2 separate regions of the Homo sapiens genome follow, and region 1 is linked to region 2. The links are contacts of gene promoters, found by promoter capture Hi-C in blood cells and fetal thymus (Javierre and others, 2016). All regions are on one chromosome and are shown on one strand. The core of a region is centred on a gene start or on the middle of the fragment in contact, and the rest is flanking DNA. Distances in the headings are between cores, read along the strand shown.

What was found. Contacts are between HindIII fragments. The CHiCAGO score rates a contact against its expected background, and 5 or more counts as called.
Region 1: a fragment that was not itself captured here is called in contact with the fragment with the promoter of KCNF1 in region 2 in 1 of 17 cell types (M0 macrophages); the score reaches 5.5 in M0 macrophages.

Annotation. Positions count from the first base shown.
Region 1 is chr2:10,832,818-10,839,365 of GRCh38, forward strand. It overlaps a transcript of PDIA6 not described here. Among named protein-coding and RNA genes, the nearest start is that of PDIA6, 23 kb to the left of the region's middle. RefSeq lists an enhancer at 2,448-2,948. The HindIII fragment of the contact is 562 bases long and covers 4,279-4,840 here.
Region 2 is chr2:10,907,893-10,915,479 of GRCh38, forward strand. It overlaps KCNF1 (potassium voltage-gated channel modifier subfamily F member 1), which reads left to right and starts at 4,042. Exons shown (of 1, transcript NM_002236.5): 1 at 4,042-6,333. The coding sequence starts at 4,535. The coding sequence ends at 6,019. RefSeq lists an enhancer at 1,087-1,587. The HindIII fragment of the contact is 10,094 bases long and covers 1-6,561 here.

The DNA.
Region 1 (6,548 bases), core at 3,310-5,809, 75 kb before region 2:
TGCCACAGGAACAGGGTAAGGAGGCGGTGAGGATCACCTGGGCCCCCAGGGACATTTGGCGGACGCAGAAAAGGCAAGGTCGAGGCCAGCGCTGGTCCCACCCCCCGCCCCCCCAGCCACTGAGACCCGCAGAAGCCGGGACTCTGGAGGCTCCCAGAACTCCAGCCCTCTGGGGTCACTCTCCTTAAAAGGCCAAGTGATGGGTGGGAGGGAGCTCACAGATGATATTGGGGCATGGAGAAAGGCCAGGAGTCCCCATTTCCCAGAGGCAGAGCAGTCAGAAAGCATCCCCTCCCCTGCCTGGACAGGTGTCCATGTAGAGCCCAGGCTCTGTGTCAGGGACAGCCCCGCTCCCTCGACAGGCCAGTTCCGCGGAAGGGGCCCATGTCTGTGTGGCCTCTAGTCTCACTTTGGCCAGGCTGGCTCCTGCCCTCGGGCAGGCCCAGGATCTGGGGTCTTTTTCCCTGTCCGGTCCCTCTCCTCTCCCCTCCTCCGGCTCCCGCAGTTGTTAATCATCCTTTCCCGTTTGGAATTTCCCGATCAGCAGGCCTGGGAGGCAGCTTTCTCAGGCCCCCACTTTGCTGCTGTGTCTCTGAGCTTGGTGTGTCCCCACCCCCTCTGGGGGTTTTCAGTCCATCACCACAGTGGGGTAATAAGCCTCACAGCCAAGGGGAGTGGCCCCCAGAACCTCAAAAACCCACAGCGGGCTCATTCCCTGACTTCTGCCAGGTAGAGGCGGCTGGGCCCTCTCCTCAGAACATGTTTGAGCCCCTTCTCAGAAGTTTCCAGAGTGCCAGTATGGTTGGCACCAGCCTTGTAAGCCCCTATGAATAGAGACACATCCCTCTTATACCCATACACAGATTGGAACTCCCGGAGGCAGGGCCTGGATTCCAGGGCATGTACTTGCTGTATAGTGGGCTCTGCAGGGAGATGTATGAAGTTAAGTGGATGTGGACATCGAGCCTGGAAAGGTTAAATGACATCCCCAGGGCTGGAAGCCATCAAGTGTCTGGAAGTGGAGCTTGGAGCTCGAGGTGCCAAGACCCTGAAGTGGCAGCCAGTGTCTGGTTATTGGAAGCCCCAGACGCTTGTTTAGAGAAATCTTTGCCTCCTCCCAGGTCCCACCAGTGCTCTCTGTGTTTCTCTTATCTTTGGATGTTGCCACACGGAAGCGGAATTCTAAAATAATTTCCTCTCCCTTCCCCCATCCCCAGACTTCTGAAGAAGATTTAAACTGGGCATTAGGTGTTTTCTAAATACTGTTGCAAAGTCCCAACAGCTTCTACAGTGAGAGCAACGCAGATCTGGGGAAAGATCCCAGTGAATTTGTATCTTTCTTTGGGGTCTCAGCAGCAATTGCATGATTTCAAAAGGAGGCAGTGCCTCACTCTCCTTTCAGGCTGCGCTTCTGAGCAGAGACAAAAAAGGGAACCTCTCAGGCTGGATCAAAGGCGAGCCTCTTTCTATGTGGGCCACGGATGCTGCCTGCAGCAGTGTGCTTTGGAGAGAAAGACCCTCTCTGTGGAGAGGGAACATTCTGGACACGTGTGCCCTTCTCCTGTGAGGCTTCCCTCCCTCCCTGGGGCTGGCCACCCTCCCTCCCTCCTTCCACGGAGGCCTGGCCTCTCTGTGGCACTGCCCCTCACCCCTCTGGGCTGCAGTGACTCCCAGAGGTGGGATCTCATTGGTCCCTGAGCGCCTGGCAGGACTGACAGGGTGCTTAGTAAACCCTTGTGGCCTGGATGCAGGCCGAGGCTCCTGTGGCCTGGGAGGGTCCAGGTCCTTCTTTGTTATGAACACTAAGAGGCAGGTCTCCTCCCTTCCCTGCCTCAGACACACAAGGGACACTTGATGTGTTTGTGGAGTGAACTAATTTCTCTCCCTCCCTCCCTCCCTCCCTCCCTTCCTTCCCTCCTTCCTTCCTTCCTTCCTTCCTTCCTTCCTTCCTTCCTTCCGTTCTTTCTTTTGACAGAGTCTGCTCTGTTGCCCAGGATGGAGTGCAGTGGTGTGATCTTAGCTCACCGCAACCTCCGCCTCCCAAGTTCAAGAGATTCTCTTGCCTCAGCCTCCTTAGTAGCTGGGATTACAGGCACGCACCACCATGTCCGGCTAATTTTTTGTATTTTTAGTAGAGACAGGGTTTCACCATGTTGGCCAGGCTGGTCTCGAACTCCTGATCTCAAGCGATCCACCTGCCTCAGCCTCCCAAAGTGCTGGGATTACAGGCATGAGCCACTGTGCCTGGCGTAGAGTGAACTAATTTCATAGCGTGGGTTGATGAACATGAACAGGTGGGGCGGGCCTACAGCAAGGAGCAGCACCAGCGCCTGTGTGTGTACTGTGGCCGCTGCTCGGCCCCGGGCGGTGCACTTTACCTGAACCGTCCTTCCAGGCCTCCCAAGCCATCTGCAGGAAGTGCTGTTTCCATCCCAGGCCTGAGATGGTGGAAAGGCTGGGGACTCCAGGGACACAGGGCTGGCAGGCGGGTGAGGTGGGCAAGTACCCCCGGCAGTCGGGCTCCGGAGCCCGCCTTCTTGACCAGGCCGCTGGCAGTGAGCCAGCCGGGTTCCGTTTCCATCGCGGGCCTTATCCGGGGCGTATTCCTTCCAGGTGCGGCCTCCGGGGAAGCCCAGTCCCCAGCCTGGAGGTGACGAGGCCGGCGCACCCACCAGGGGTCGCTGCAGGCAAGAGCTGGAGGCCTGAAGGCAGGTGGGGCCCAGGGAGCCGGCCCGGCACACTCGGATACACAGCTTTAGGTGTGCCAGATCGGGACGATGTTTTAATAAAAGTAAAGCAGACATCTCCGACCCACGAGGAAACCCAGCCTGGGTTTGGATCCACCTCTGAGCTCCACCTTCACTCAGCTGCCAAATGGGGACAGTGGCTGTGGCCCTGTCTCCCTCATGGGACCGCCAGGGGATCCTATGAAATCACAATACTTAGAGAGGGGGCCGGGCGCGGTGGCTCACGCCTGTAACCCAGCACTTTAGGAGACCGAGGCGGGCGGATCATTTGAGGTCAGGAGTTCGAGACCTGCCTGGGCAACATAGTGAAATCCCGTCTCTACTAAAAATACAATAATTAGCTGGGCGTGGTGGCGGGCGCCTGTAATCCCAGCTACTCGGGAGGCTGAGTCAAGAGAATCACTTGAACCCGGGAAGCAGAGTTTGTAGTGAGCCAAGATCGAGCCACACTGCACTCCATCCTGGACAACAGGGCAAGACTCTGTCTCAAAAAAAAAAAAATACTTTCAGACCGTGGAGTACCTTGGTGCCTGAGATGATCCTATTGGCCTCACTAGGTGCCCGTGGGGGTGCCACCACCAGTGATGAAGGGGAAGGGAGATCAACCCCTACTTTTCCGAGGGTCTTTCCCATGTAAGAAATACAAGCTGAATCTTCCTGAAATTCAGCCACAGATCCCACACTCCCTTAAGGCACACTCAGGTCCTACGATGGCCTGCTGCAGACACTGGCAACGTCAGGCCTGGAGCATCCTTGTCTAGGATGGGTCTGGGGCTTTGGGCTCTGTGGTGTTATTTTATTATTTATTTATTTATTTATGTATCTATTTTTAGAGACGGAGTCTCACAAAGTTGCCCAGGCTGATCTCGAATTCCTGAACTCAAGCAGTCAGCCCGCTGTGGCCTCTCAAAGTGCTGAGATTAAAGGCATGAGCCACTGTGCCCGGCCTTCTGTGGTTTTAAATGAAACTTTTGCAGGCTTTTTTTTTTTTTTAATTAAGAGATCATTCGCATGCCATAGAATTCACTCTTTTAAATTGTCCAATTTGGTTGTTTTTAGCGTATTCACAAGTTTGTGTAACCCCCCCAGCAATTCCAGAACACTTCATCAGTCACCTCAAAAAGAAACCTGTGCCAATCTTCCCCTTCGCTTACCCCTGGCAACCACTGATCTACTTAACCTTTTCTTTATATTGTGTCTTTTCATTGCCGCTTGTGTTCTATGGGGATTAAAAAAAAATAGATGGCTTACTTCATGTGAGCAAGAAGGGACCTGTGTCTCAGGGTAGCAGACAGGGTTATGGGGACTCCTTGGGGTTAGAACGTGGGGTCCCATGCCTCAACCCTCTCTGATGAGCTGTGTGAGCACAGAGGAATGAGAACATCTTTCTGGCTTTTTGTCTTCTCATTCTGTTTCATTCTCATTCATGATGGTTAACAGTGATGATACTTGTCCCACTTACAGCAAGGAAATCCCACGTCTCCTAAACAACAGAACCCCAAATCTGCCTGGGCTTGATGCTGGGAGGAGAAGCTTCCAGGGGCAGCAGGATCAAGGAGCTGGCTCTGTCCCTGCCTCTGTTCTCACTGTCACCCCTCTCTGTTTCCCATGAGTGCGGCCCCCAGCAAGCTGGGCCTGTGTGCTGCTCCCATGGCGGCCACGGCCCCCTTACCCAGGACACCACCAGCCCAGCAGGGAGGGGCTGACGTCCTCACAAAGACTTACTAAATATTCAAGGAGGCGACGGGGAAAAGAGAGCACGAAACACAGCATTTAGTTCCCTGAAGAATTAGAAGCAGTTTGCAAAGATGCACTCAATATGACAAGATTAAAAAACATACGTGAGGAAATCAGAGAGGAATAAAAATGAGGGGGAGAAAAAAATAAGATGAAGCCAGGGAGAGGTTGGTATGGAAACTCCAGATGGTGATTTAAGGAGCACTTATGCAGCACACTTACCACGATCCGAGCGCCGTGCAAGTATCATCAACTCATTTGATCCTCGGGACACTTTGGAGGCAGGGGCTGTGATTATCCTCATTTTGCAGTCAGAAAAGCCCAGGCACAGAATTGCAGCTTGTTCAGGGGCTCCAAGCTTCTAGGTGGCAGAGCTGGGTCTCAAGCCTGGGCAGCCTGGTGTGCAAGTTCATGCCACCCCTGCTGCTTTTTCATGATATCACATGAACGCACTGGGGGTGGGCAGGGGAGCCCGGGCATGAGCAGAATAAGCAGGGAATATCTTTGTCATCTTGGATCTTGTTCCAGAAATCATAGGTATTTTGCATTTTTCCCCATGATGTTTCTATATTTGTGCAAGTGTGTTGAAAATTAGGTTGTGTGTGTGTGTGTGTGTGTGTGTGCGCGCGCACGCAGGCACTCTGTCTGAGCTTCAGCTGAGGCCCTGAGGGGTTCTGAAGAAAGCACAAGGTGTCAGGTAGCCCATCTCTGCCTGGGCGGTTGAGAGCTGTTCTACCAGCATGGGCCCTCACCCACTCCAGGGAGAATAAGGCAGGGTGAGAGTTTGGGGAGCTTGAGGAGGCTGGTGCAGGGACTGCTCTGGAGAGGCTGCCTGTGCACTAGTCTCTCCCAAGTCTGGGGGAGGCATTTGAGGGAACTGTCTGGATAGTTGTGTGTGTCTTTGGAATTGGAGGGACCCAGGGACTGGTGTCTGAGCCCCTAGAAAATTCTCGTGATGAGAGAATGTTGGCTAAAAGGCTGGCGTTGGGCGCTTCCTTCATTCATTCATTCATATGACCCTCAACAAACATTTACTGAATGTTTGATTGTGTGTTCTAGGTGCCAGGGATGCACCTGTGGACCACACAGATTGCCCCGTGACCTTACATTCTAGTAATGAGGGTAACAGCTTCAGAGGGACCCTGCCCATGAGTTGGGGGCAAGGGGCCTGCAGGTGAGGAGTGGGCTGCAGCGGGCTCTGATTGGGCAGCTGGAAGAGGGCCCGGGTCTGTGGCCGGATCCCTGCACTCCGCATGCCCCAAGATGGTGGACGTTTGACACCATTCATTGGTTACCTACTGTGTACATATAGTATCTGTAATCTGCGTTCTCCCTGAAGGTAGAGATTATAGCCCCACTTTGCAGAGGAAAGCAGTGGCTCAGAAAGTGCCGGGGGTGGGTGTTGAGGTCCACCCAGGGGTTCTTTTCCTCAGAGCTGGCCACTCTCTTGCCACTCTGATGAGTTTCTCTTGGTTTTCAAAAATGGAGCAGGCAGGAATGGAACCTCTCTGAGCTCCATCTTTGCTGCAATCTGACACACGTCGTGAGTTATGTCAATTTTCCAGAGGCTCCAGGCAAGAACAGCTCCTCGTGGAGACTTCTCAGGCTTATTAAGGAGTCAGATCTGGGTGGCAGCAGCAAGGAAGCAGCTCTAAGCATGTTCTGGAATCATTCATAGGCTTTTATTTTCTGAGCTGTTCCCAAGAGTGTAACCAAATGCTAATACCATTGACATTGTTTTCTTAATGATTACTTTGGCTTGTATTAGGAAACAGCTTAATTAGCATTAATTAGAGTGTTCTCTCTACAGGACACATCTCCCTCAAAGCAAGGTCTCCTTAGTTTACTCATTTGCAGGGGGAGAACTGTCACTGACTGAGGTTAAGGGTGTGGCCCAAGGACACAGGAGGTGACAAACTGGGGAACAAAGCTGTCAGTCTGTTCAGGCTGCTGTAAAAAAATCACCACAGATTGGGTGGCTTAAAAACAGCAAAAATTTATTTCTCATAGTCTGGAGGCTGGGAAATCCAAAGATGAGAGCGCCTGCGGATCTGGTGTCTGGTG
Region 2 (7,587 bases), core at 2,792-5,291:
TGTCGTAACAGAATACCACAAACTGGGGTGGTTTTAAAACAACAGAAATTTATGCTCTCACAGTTCTGGGGACCAGAGTCCAAAATCCAGGTGTCGTCAGGGTTGGTTCCCTCTTGGGGACTCAGAGGGCTCCATGCGTCTCTCCCATCTTCTGGTGGCTGCCGGCAGTCCCTGCTGTACCATGGCTTGTGGCAGCATCACTCCAACCTCTGCCTGTGTTGCCACGTGGTGTTCCCCCTGTGTATCTGTGTCTCTTCTTACAAGGACACCAGTGATTGGATTTAGGGCCCACCCTACTCCAGGGTGATCTCATCTTCACTTACATCTGCAAAGACCCAACTTCCAAATCAGGTCACATTCACAGGGGCCGGGTTTAAGGCTTGAGCATATCTTTTGAGAGGACACAGTTGAACCCACAGCCTCATACCACCAGTAAGTGTCAGAGCTTGGCAAGGCCTCCACCTGTAGCCTCTCTGTTCACTATGCTATTCAACAAATGACAACGTGTGAATATGTAAGTCCATGTCACCCATTTAACAGCCCGGGAAACTGAGGGGCACATGAATGCCAGCCTTCTGCTCCCCCATCTAAGGATACAGGGCTGATCCTCACAGAGCAGGATTTGTGTCTCTGCCTCTTCTCTTCCCTCCCCTGGCTTCTGGCTGCAGGCTGGTCTCGCACCTCCAGCCTTGACCTGCTATTTACAGCTGTTTCTTTCTCTTGCCCCTGTTGTCATTGGGCACTTGCTCTCCTGTGGGCTGTGTGCGGACATTCTCTCTGCTGGGCTTTGCATCTGCTGCCCCTCCCCTCCCACTTCTGCACCAGACCAGCTTTCTCCCCACTGGGCCTGGGATTTGCTGAATGGACTTGGAGTCAGAGTCAGCCTCTGGCTGCTATGACCTGATTCAAGCCGTATTTATTTTTCCACGTCTGATATTCTCTGTTATTTTCTAATACTCAATACGTTAATTTCACAGCCAGCTACTGAGCCACGACCTAAAGTATGAAGTGCTGACTTGTGGTCCAGATGCCTCCAGGGCCGCTGAGACCCTCCGGGGTCTGTTTCCAGCTGACTCCACCAGCCTCAGGCCTGCCAGCCTCACCTCCAAACCGTGTGGCCCTTTCAGCTGAGCAGGCAGGTGGCACTCAGACCTCCAGGCTCAGCTCACGCACTGGCTCTTCCGGGGGCCTGAGTCTCCAGCTTGTCATCACATCTTTCTAGATTCTAGATTTGTCCGCCTGCCATCCTCTCAGCCTGGGGTCAATAGTGTATTAACTATGATTTCTTATTTTCTGCATTCCTGATGACTGGCAATGTGGCCTCACAGACTGGAGAGACTGCCCCTCCCAGTGGGTGACATCCTTAGAGATTGCGAAAGGCTGGAGCGTATCTTTCACAGGCAAACCCACCAATTCCAGGCCCAGACCCCCAACTTCCCCTCATCAAACTCTCACACACCAAGGCAATATTTCCCTGCCCTAAATCATCCCAGACCAGGGACCAGGCAACTAGAGACCACCTCTGTAGTTCAAAGCCCACCAGAATTATCCCAAGGAGCCAATCCTGGACTCTTTCCTCTGTTCTGCCCTAACTTTTCCCCCAGGAAACCCCAATAGAGGGCCTGGCCTCGTTTTCCCCTCGCTCCTGCTTCTGCCTGGCCACACCTGGAATTTCCTCTGGCGTGTCCTCTTCTCTCAGGACATGTTAGTAATGCGTTCTTTCAATGACATTGATCTCTCTAAATCCCAGCGGTATAATTTTAATGCACCAGCCTCTCCTGGGCCTGCCCAGGTATCTGCAAACTCCCGGGTTCCACAGCACCTTGTATTTCATGACGATACAAAGGAGTAGCTATTGGGGCTCTATCTGCTGAGGGAGATTCATCAGACACCCCGATGCAAACCTGAGTGAGTGAAGGCTGGGCTTCTAGGCAAATGCAGCCCCTCCCTCTTCCAACCAGATGGCCGCCCCTCAGCGCCCCCTGTGGAGAAATTCAGGAAGCACCACTCTTGTATAATACATATACCCCTCTTGTTAAGGTCATTACCCCAAACTGTTAATTATTATTTACAAAAAACATATTATCTACTAGAATATGAACCCTGTCCCCACACCTAGGGTGGTGTGTGTATGTGTGTGTGTGTGCATTTGCACACATGTGCCATAAGAGCTCGATAAATATTTGAATAACTGAGTGAATGAATGGGTATTTAGAAGCCCATTAAGCTCAGACTAGGATGCAATTTGAACTTAACCCTGCAGGTACTCGGACAGCTGATAAGGGGAGTAGCATGCATAAGGATTGGAAGAGGAAGCTGGGGTGTGTGTAGGAGGTGGTGTGTAGCACTGTACTGGGGAGAAGAATAGGCCTCAGAACCCAGCAGGACAATGGTTAAATCCCAGCTCCACAGAGTGATCTCGGCAGGTTACCTGACATCTTGTTTCCTTAGGGGTTGCTGGGAAATTAAATGACAAAAATGCAAAGCACTCAGAGACTGCACTCCGATGCCCATGGAGAATAAGTGGCAACTCTTATTATTACTCAACCTTTCTGAGCCTCGATTTCCTACTCTGTAGTAGCATGTCATTGTCTGATGCTAAATGGAAATGAAGTAAAATTTGTAAAACGAAGTTTCACTAAATAATACTTCATGTGATGTATTCTAATATATTCTGTTTTATGCTAACTCATTAAAGAAAAAAGAATACTGTCAGTGACCCAGTAAATTGATTTCATAATCCATTAACGGACATGTCCTTAAGTTTTAAAAAACCCAGCCTACAGAATACATTTTTAAATAGACTTTATATTTTAGAGCACAATTCAACAGAAAGTACAGAGAATTCCCACATGCCCCCTGTCTCCACAGCTCTCCCCTGCGCATCAACATCTCACACAGGGTGGGACACTTGTCATGGTGGACCACCCCACATGGACACGTCATCATCGCCCAGCACCGAGTTTGCATTAACATTCGCTCCTGGTGGTGAACATTCTATGGATTTTGACCATTGCATAACGACACATATCCGCCATTATGGTACGTTTCACTGCCCTAAAAATCCTCTGCTCTGCCTATTCATTCTTCCCTCCAGAATATTTTTAACACGATCTCGAGGCCATAGATGATATCAGTAATTTGCAGTATTGATGATAGTGGTGAACCGGAGGAGAGAGACACTGTTAGGAAGCTGCTGTAGTGGTTCAGGTGAGTGAGGACAGAAGGACAGCTGTGGCTGCAAAGGCTGGAAGAGAGGAGGGTGTGGGACACTGGTCAGGAAGAGACAGGCCTTGGTCAAGGAGTGAGGAACGGGGAAGCAGGAGCCACTGGACCCTAGGGGTCTGGAAGCTAGTGGCCTTGGTGTGGGACTGCAGAGAGATAGGAGGTGCCAGACGGCAGGGACTTCAAGGCAGAATTGAAATCTGCTGAACAGCAGGCGTCGGTCAGCTGGGACAGCCGGAAAGCTCGGGATCAGGAGGCGGTCAAGCTGAGCTCTGCTCTCATTCCGCCGCGTGACCTTGGGCAAGTCCCTTCCCTTCTACAGGAGGCTGGACTAGATGTCCTCCTTGTACAGCGTTGCGGGGAAGGTGAGACAGTGCCACCAACACAGCAGGGCATTGCTGGGTCGGGGGGATGGGGCAGGAAACGCTTCAAGGATCAGGCAGGATTTTCCTCCCACCAGGAAAAGCCGGCGCGGGTCTAAGGCCGGAGGAGGGACCCAGACATAGGAGTCACCTTCTAAGGGGCTTCCTGGAGCACATTTTCCTGCCCAGCAACAGGCGGCAGCATTCTCTCCCCACTAATCCTCTCCAAACAGCAGTGAGAGAGAATGCCTGCCGCTTCAAGCCAGGTCGCAACCCCTCGGTGACCCGCTGCGCCCGAGGAGGGGCCGGCGGTGCGCGGTGGTGGCGGCGGGCGCGGCAGCTGTGCCCGTCTGCCCAAGGGTTAATCCGTCCCCTGCAGCTGCCGCGCGTGCCTTGCAGAATTTCACCAGAAGAGGGTACAGTTTGAAAAGCTCCTGACGTCAGGCTGGAATTCCTATTGTGTTTAGAAAAGGCTCGGGCAAAGCCAGCCCAAGTTCGCTCTCTGCACACCTCGAGCACCTCGCGGACGGCGTGGGTCCGCCAGCTCCGGGACCTGCCGCCGCTGCCTGCGCGCCCCGGGGCGGAGGACGGTGCCAGCCGCCCACGAGGAGACCCCGCTCCCGCAGGAGGCCGAGCTGAAGCGGCGGAGCGCGCCGCCAGCCAGCCGGGGTGAGTGCCCCGGGCGAGGCCGGCGGCCGCCAAAGCCCCCGCGGGCTCGCCCGGGCGCCCGGATGCCAGCCCCGAGCCCCGCCGCCGGGTGCATGCCTCCCCCGCGGCGCGCCCCCGCAGGCTGCTGCCCGCTGTGACCGCCCTTCCCCGCAGGCGGGCGCCGGCCAGGCTCTCCCCGAGATCAGCGCACGGGTGGCACCCGCCGGACCCCCAGCGGCAGCGGCGGCGGCGGCTGCAGGGGGCGCGGGGCGGAGGCTGCGAGGGCGCGCGCGGGGAGGATGGACGGGTCCGGGGAGCGCAGCCTCCCGGAGCCGGGCAGCCAGAGCTCCGCTGCCAGCGACGACATAGAGATAGTCGTCAACGTGGGGGGCGTGCGGCAGGTGCTGTACGGGGACCTCCTCAGTCAGTACCCTGAGACCCGGCTGGCGGAGCTCATCAACTGCTTGGCTGGGGGCTACGACACCATCTTCTCCCTGTGCGACGACTACGACCCCGGCAAGCGCGAGTTCTACTTTGACAGGGACCCGGACGCCTTCAAGTGTGTCATCGAGGTGTACTATTTCGGGGAGGTCCACATGAAGAAGGGCATCTGCCCCATCTGCTTCAAGAACGAGATGGACTTCTGGAAGGTGGACCTCAAGTTCCTGGACGACTGTTGCAAGAGCCACCTGAGCGAGAAGCGCGAGGAGCTGGAGGAGATCGCGCGCCGCGTGCAGCTCATCCTGGACGACCTGGGCGTGGACGCAGCCGAGGGCCGCTGGCGCCGCTGCCAGAAGTGCGTCTGGAAGTTCCTGGAGAAGCCCGAGTCGTCGTGCCCGGCGCGGGTGGTGGCCGTGCTCTCCTTCCTGCTCATCCTCGTCTCGTCCGTGGTCATGTGCATGGGCACCATCCCCGAGCTGCAGGTGCTGGACGCCGAGGGCAACCGCGTGGAGCACCCGACGCTGGAGAACGTGGAGACGGCGTGCATTGGCTGGTTCACCCTGGAGTACCTGCTGCGCCTCTTCTCGTCACCCAACAAGCTGCACTTCGCGCTGTCCTTCATGAACATTGTGGACGTGCTGGCCATCCTCCCCTTCTACGTGAGCCTCACGCTCACGCACCTGGGTGCCCGCATGATGGAGCTGACCAACGTGCAGCAGGCCGTGCAGGCGCTGCGGATCATGCGCATCGCGCGCATCTTCAAGCTGGCCCGCCACTCCTCGGGCCTGCAGACCCTCACCTATGCCCTCAAGCGCAGCTTCAAGGAACTGGGGCTGCTGCTCATGTACCTGGCAGTGGGTATCTTCGTCTTCTCTGCCCTGGGCTACACCATGGAGCAGAGCCATCCAGAGACCCTGTTTAAGAGCATCCCCCAGTCCTTCTGGTGGGCCATCATCACCATGACCACCGTCGGCTACGGCGACATCTACCCCAAGACCACGCTGGGCAAGCTCAACGCGGCCATCAGCTTCTTGTGTGGTGTCATCGCCATCGCCCTGCCCATCCACCCCATCATCAACAACTTTGTCAGGTACTACAACAAGCAGCGCGTCCTGGAGACCGCGGCCAAGCACGAGCTGGAGCTGATGGAACTCAACTCCAGCAGCGGGGGCGAGGGCAAGACCGGGGGCTCCCGCAGTGACCTGGACAACCTCCCTCCAGAGCCTGCGGGGAAGGAGGCGCCGAGCTGCAGCAGCCGGCTGAAGCTCTCCCACAGCGACACCTTCATCCCCCTCCTGACCGAGGAGAAGCACCACAGGACCCGGCTCCAGAGTTGCAAGTGACAGGAGGGCCCCTCAGGCAGAGATGGACCAGGCGGTGGACAGATGGGTAGATGTGGCAGGCATGTCATCGACAGCACAGAAGGGCTGTCCTGTGTCCCCCCAACCCTCCCCTGGACAGACTCTGAAGGCCCTCCCGGCACCTCTGCCAAGGCTGGGTAAGACTCCTCTATGTTGCCTGCTGTCCAGGAGCCCGGGAGGGAGGGGTGTGCAGGAGCCGCAGGGCCGTGTGGGACGAGTGGAGGCCGCGGCCTGGCTGGCACGAGAGCCCACGCCCGCTTCTGTATCTCCCTCAATAAAGCCTCCTGCTCTGTGCACCCTCCGTGTTGTAGGTTCTGTCACAGGCTGGCTGTCACCCCCAAGAGTAGCTCAGGCACACTTCAGTGCCAGGCCAGGAGGTAGGTGTGCAGCCGGGTGGTGGGGGAGTTATTTTTAGTGGGAACTAATTAAAGAAGGGCTCATAGTCAGGTTCGGCGCCAAGGAGCCTTACCACATTCCTGGAGGCTCTGCAGGCCGTGCTTCCCTGCTGCTTCCTTCTGGGGTAAAGCTTGCTCCCCCTGCAGGCCCAGGATGGGGGAGAGTTCACAGTGCACGCCCAGCAGCCTGCAGCATTTAGTTATCACGTGCACCGGGCCCTTTTCACAACCTCTTTCTATTCCTTCCATTGACCCTACTAGCTAGGTATCTCCATTTTACAGATGAGGAAACTGAGGCCCAAGGTCACACAGAGAAGGGAACAATCCCAGGTCTGATGATCCCAAAGCCCATGTGTTCTCTCTGACACCAGGTGGTCTTGGGACAGAGGCATCTGCTTGGGCTCATGATGAGACAGTCTTTGGACCAGGAGAGGGGCTGATCTTCCTTGGTGTGGGGGTGCCTGTCCTCCAGCCCATCTTTCTAGCCCTGATACCTTTGAGATAGCTGCTGAATGGATAAACCCGAGTGTGGATGCCCCTACCCGTGTCCTGGTGTCTCACTGAATCTCCTCTGAGAGCCCCGAGGGAACAGATCAAACAGATCTGGGTTCGAAGCCCAGGCAGTGAAGAGGAACCCTGAGATGCCTTTGAGCTTAAACATTTTTCTCTAAGGCCTCTCCTCCACCACTCCCTTACCAACTTTGTGACCGTAGGCCTGCTGATTCATCTCTCTGACCCTCATTCTGATCATCTGGTAAATGGGAATATAATATTTAATAAGTACGGCAGAGAATCGTGGCTTTTAGCATGGCACCTGGCACTTAGTAAGTGCTCAATAAATAGTAGCTGTTTCTATTACTCTGTGCTGGGAGGGAGGTGGGTTGCACGGTTGCCCACTCTGACCTCCACTGATCTGGGCTGGGCTTGTAGGTGGGGGGAGGTTGGGGGCAGGGCATTGTCACACTGTCCTTAGTCAAAGGCTAAGAGTTGGCCCCAGCAGGCCCCTTCTTCTGGGTTTCCATCTTTCCTGAAACCCAGAGCTGTGTCCTTGCTTCTCTTGCTAAGGCAGCTGGTGCAGTGGGAGGAGCCCTGCAGTGGGGCAAGTGTGTGGGACTAGATGGGGGAGAGGGAGGTGGTGGTCCCCAGTCTGCCACC